Regions from separate parts of the Homo sapiens genome. Here region 1 is linked to region 2. Evidence: promoter capture Hi-C in 16 types of primary human blood cells and fetal thymus (Javierre and others, 2016). All regions are on one chromosome and are shown on one strand. The core of a region is centred on a gene start or on the middle of the fragment in contact, and the rest is flanking DNA. Distances in the headings are between cores, read along the strand shown. Region 1 has its middle 9.4 kb from the start of ZDHHC21. Region 2 holds the start of TTC39B (tetratricopeptide repeat domain 39B).

The links. Contacts are between HindIII fragments. The CHiCAGO score rates a contact against its expected background, and 5 or more counts as called.
Region 1: a fragment that was not itself captured here is called in contact with the fragment with the promoter of TTC39B in region 2 in 1 of 17 cell types (total B cells); the score reaches 5.2 in total B cells.

Annotation. Positions count from the first base shown.
Region 1 is chr9:14,701,531-14,704,230 of GRCh38, reverse strand. No RefSeq gene overlaps it. Among named protein-coding and RNA genes, the nearest start is that of ZDHHC21, 9.4 kb to the right of the region's middle. The HindIII fragment of the contact is 4,992 bases long and covers 1-2,700 here.
Region 2 is chr9:15,305,966-15,308,665 of GRCh38, reverse strand. It overlaps TTC39B (tetratricopeptide repeat domain 39B), which reads left to right and starts at 1,450. Exons shown (of 20, transcript NM_152574.3): 1 at 1,450-1,582. The coding sequence starts at 1,541. RefSeq lists silencers at 1,196-1,535, 1,566-1,885 and enhancers at 1,123-1,685, 2,249-2,700. The HindIII fragment of the contact is 2,405 bases long and covers 1,209-2,700 here.

The sequences.
Region 1 (2,700 bases), core at 92-2,591, 600 kb after region 2:
CTGGTACTGAATTTTACAATGGTAGGCCCAGTGTTGGGGCCCGGGAGAATGTCCTAAGTTCATTTACCTCTCTTTCCCCTAAGTGGACAGTATCTGTCTCTGTGCTATGCTGCTTGGAGTTGGGAAGGGGTGACACAGGTAATGTAAAACTCTCCTTTCTACCCTCTTCAATGTATCTTTTCTTATTTTTGTGCTACAACCAGGCACTGTGATCTCTCATATGTTTTTCTTAGCCCTTGTGAAGGTATTTTTGCATGTGGGTAGTTGTTCAAATTGATGTCTCTGTTGGGGGACAATCACTGGAGAGTACTACTCTACCATCTTGCTCCATCCTTCTTCTAAGTTGCACTTTTTATCACGTAGTCATTACACTTATTCTTCCATCAGTATTTAGCATTATAATTCAATAATTTTCAACTATTATTGGCCCTAAAACTTACTTCAGGCACTTACTGGCAATGCCTCTTTCTGGGTTCCATACCCAAGGATGCTGATTCAGTGGGTTTGGGGGTATGCTCAGATATCTGAGTTTTTTTCCCTTTTTAGTCATGAAGATTTTAAAACCAAGCTGAAAAAAAGTACCAAAAATACTTCTATACATTCTACCTTAATTCAACAATTTGTTGGCATTTTGTCATATTTGCTTTATATCTCAACTTGTATGAATGAGTGTATATGTGTATTCACTACATATTTCTGTATTGTTTGAACATGTGAAAGTAAATTTCAAATATCAAGACACTTCCACTTTTTTTTTTTTTTGAGACGGAGTCTTGCACTGTCACCTGGGCTAGAGGGCAATGGTGCGATCTTGGCTCACTGCAACCTCCGCCTCCCGGGTTCAAGCGATTCTCCTGCCTCAGCCTCCTGAGTAGCTGGGATTACAGGCACTTGCCACCATGCCCAGCTAATTTTTTGTATTTTTTTTAGTAGAGATGGGGGTTTCACTATGTTGACCAGGCTGTTTTCGAACTCCTGACCTCATGATCCGCCTGCCTCAGCCTCCCAAAGTGCTGGGATTACAGGCATGAGCCACTGCGCCTGGCTGACACTTCCACTTTAATACTCCAGCATGCATCTCCTAAGAATAAGAATATCCTCCTATATAATTAGAATACTATAATCACTCCTAAGATAATTAACAGTATTTCCAAACTATCATCTATATTTTGCATTTTAACAGAAGATTCTAGACCTAGTTGTCTCTCTCTCAAGTACAGTGGGACAAGTTTCAGATATTGTGACAGACCAATGGGGAAGATTTTGGGGGAGCAAGCAGCAGGTCTTATGAGACAACCCAAATAAGCCTCAAGTTAGCTTTGGGTTGACTTCACAAAGTTCATCAGACAAATGTGCTATCTTGCCAGAATGGCCACTGCACTTGACACACAGTCTAAGCTAACGCAGATAGGTCATGTGGCTTCTAGGAGCCACTCCTACACACTGATTTCAACTATAAGACAGGGGAAACACTCTTTCCTTCCCTAGGAAACTTCAAAGAAAATCCTCCTGCTCTCATTTTCATAATAAAAAGTTGACTGGTGAATGTACAAAAAGGCATCCATGTAATTAACTATATACCCTGGTTTAAGTGATAAAGTTTGCTTCAGTGTAAATGATCAGTCAAATTACTCCCCTCTGTGATTAAAGAGTTAAAATTGTGGCCCAGCGTCATGCTCCAGGGCAGCTGTAAGAAATAGAGATCATGGGCGTTGTAGTGTGATAATTCTGCATACTCTCTAATATTGTCTTCATAAAATAGCATCAGCTGCTGCTGCATATGGTATAACTTTAATATGCTCTTTTAATATTTACAGTATGCCTATAAAAGATTTCATGATGACAGTTGGTGGTTCCCGTGGTAATTAATAAATGACAGTACAACTGTGATCAGATGGTTTTAGGAAAGAGTCTCTCAGAATGCTGGCTTTCACAAATCCAGGCCTGGGGATGATTTCTGGGGGCAGGGTTTTCTAAACCTGAGGTTGACCCCATGTCGTTATTTGCCTATGTGGTTTTGTAGAGTTTTATCTCCAGGTTCTTCCCAAACAGCAAAAAGTGGGAAAGAAGACAGAGGAGTTAGTAAGAAGGTTGCCTGCTAGAGCAGATATGAATTTGGAAGTGACTTTTTTGTTTTTGTAATGCAGTTGTAGTGCAACTTACTCCTTGACAAAGAATATGTAGATATGTGTGAGTTTGGTAGGTCTTGCTACCTGAAGCAGCATAGGTAGTTAATAAATCCCACATGTGGTCAGTGTCTTCTAAGTAGTTGGTCAATCTTTTACCATTGATTCCACTGAATTCTTTGATAGTGTTTGCTTGCCTCAGGCCATTCATCACCACACTTTGAGCCCGTATTGCCTATGGGATTTTCTCACGCATCTCTATTTGCTGTTGCATCCATGTGAACCATGTTTTTTATCACCTAAGGCTGAGGCTTCCCACGATGTGTCAAAAGGTGAAATTCCAGGTGGCCTAAATTTTCCCATTTATTAGGTGTAGGTACAATGAACTCAAAGCAGGTATGTTGAATTATTATAGTATATTTGTAAACCAACAAAAGTTAATTCTATAAAGTGTTTTGGAGCCATAAGATATAACAGAAAGTATTTCTTTTGTTACTTTTGGTACCAGGATTTTCCTTGAAGGACTTGGAGATTCATTTCTGTATTCAACATTCTCTTCACCTGAGCAAAGTGA
Region 2 (2,700 bases), core at 201-2,700:
ACAACTGCTCTACTGACACAGAAAGAAAGAGAGGGAGGGTGGCTAGAGCCAGTACAGTACAAAGCAATGGTTATCAGCTAGGCCCTAGAGTTAGACTGCTGGGGTTCAGATGCTGGCATCCCTACTTACTTAACTGCTGTCTGGCCTCAGGCATATTACTTGAACTCTCTGAGCCTCAGTTTACTCATCTGAAAGAGAACAGCACCCTACTTTATGGGGTTATGAAGAATAAATGAAATACTATATGCAAGAGGTTCAGTAGAGTCCTGGCACATAGTAAGGACTCAAGAACTATTAGCTGTTTTTACAGTTATCACTGGATGACTATTAAATAGCCTTTCATGAGCCAGACATGGAAGACCACATGCTCTAATTAAATTTATATGAAATTCTAGAGAAGGCAAATCGATGTTGATAGCAGATCAGTGATTGACAGAGGCTAGGGAGCGGAGGTAGGAAATTGACAGCAAAGGGTCACAGAAAACTTTTCAGGATGTTCTATATTATGACTGGGATGCTTTGTAAACACTTGTCACTGAATCACACATTTAACTTGGTGCATTTTTCTGTATGTAAAGTAAATCTGACCTCTCTCCCCCAAACTCTTAAAGATCTAGCTTTTAATTTTCCAGTTATTTTACATGTCAGAAGCAAGGTTCAGTTTCTAAACTCAGCCAACAAATATCTGTTGAGCACCTACGATGTGCAAGACACTGTTCTGGGTGTTGGGGATACAGTCTTGAAGAGGACAGATAGCATCCTACCCCCATGGAGTTTATAGTTCAAGCACGAATTATACACCTATGTTTGGAGTTACAAAATACAGGATGCTATGGGGAGAATACACTGTCCGGGTAGGGGGAAGTAGAGGAGTTCCAATATGTATAAATCTCTGTCCCGCGTTTTTTTCTATTTTTTGAACACAGAAGCAAGCAGAGTCCTTCCACCTACAGTCCAGGTGGGTGGTGTGTCAGAGGCCTCTCGGGGACCAGTGACCGTGACCCAAGGCTGCCCTCAGGCCACACCATCTGCGAGATGCGGTGGCCACCTGGCGAGGGAAAAGGACTGGCACCGGACCAAAGACCAGGTGGATGCTTCCACGGACCCCAGGTGGGGCGCTGCTTTGACCTTGGCTTCGTCATGCCCGCGCTCTCTAGCTTCTTTCCAGGTGTGCCCAGCCACCGCAGAGAACAGGCGGCAGGAAAGCTTAGGAAACCCTCCCAGAGGGCGTGCCAGACCGGGAAACTTTATCTGGGAGGTGACTCCACCCACTTGGGCGGGGCTGCCGCCCGCTGGGGGCCGGGCAAGTGGCCCGGCCAGCGGCGCGGCGTCCGGGGAGGAAATGGATGCTGTGCTGGCCTGCCGGCTCCGGGGGCGGGGAAATCGAGTAGCTGCACTCAGGCCCCGCCCGAGACCCGGAGGGAGCGCCGGGCCGTCCCCTTTTGCCCTCCTTTGCGCTGGGCTGAGCCCAGAGCCGAGAGCAGGAGTCGGCTCTGAGTTCCCTGCTTGGTTTTTGGGTGGCAGCAGCCAGAGGAGGAATATGGCGCTCTTAGGCAGCCGAGCGGAGCTGGAAGCGGACGAGGTACGATCCGATGGGGATTGCGGGCCCGGCCCCTGAAGCCCTGGACAGGAGTCCGGGAGAGAAGAGTGAGCCCGGCTAGGACGGCCGAGGCCCCGCCCCCTTGGTCCCCTCTCTGGGGTGGGCTGGCGGGCGCCGGGTGGGGGCGCCCGGCCTTGGTAGGTCTGTCCCCGCTGGAGCTAGGAGGGTCCCTGCGGCGCGCGGAGCGGACGCAGTGCCGAGGTTCGGAGCGCCGGCCCCGCGAGTCGTGGGGATGGAGGACCCACGTCCTGCCAGCACTTGGATGGGCGTGAGGGCGCGGGACCATAGGACCCGCAGCTCTGAGCTGTTCCGGGCCGGCCCAGCGACGCCTGGGCTTTACGAAGTCTGACCCTGAAGTCCTGGCACTGGCTCTCTGGGTGTTCGTGGAATCATCCCTCGACCTGGGAATCTCACCTTCTATGGAAGTTTCCTGGTGGCAGAACCGAAAGGCTTACGATTGATGAAAAGAGGGGGCAGCCTGAGGAACAATGAGTAGAGGGGTACCTGCCGCGACAGCAGGGCAGGGCTGCCAGGGGCTGGGGCTGGAGGGCTAGAGCCGCAGCCCAGGCTGTGGTGCTTCCCTCTCCCTCCACGGGGCCGGGACACTTCCCCTAGCAGGTCCTCAGAGTCGGTGGTGGCCGGAGGGAAACCACTTTGAGAACCGACTCCGGCCTCCTTTGGTTTCAACTGTGTTTGAGTAATTAGCCACTCCTTCAGTCGTGGCGCGCCCGGGCCTGAGCACCCAGGGGCTAGCGCGCCGGACCTGTTGATTTATTGACTATTCATTTCAGCACCTGGCAACTCCAGAGACAGCGCTCTCCCTGCTCTTGAAGTTGAGACCGAGGCTCCAGCAGCAGCCAGCACCCACAGCTGCTGTTCCTGCCATCTTACCTGACTTGAATTGTGCGAGTCGCTGCCTTTAGAAGGCTTTGGTTTCAAATGATGCAATAGTGGACGATCTGGAGGAGGCGGTTAAGTTTCCCGTCCATCTCTTTAGTGCCAGGAATCTCCTGACAAGGAAGACTATACTTTAAATGTGCTCCGTAAAATAAACAAAAAACAAAAACTGAACTACAGCTCCTCTGCATGACAGAGAGACA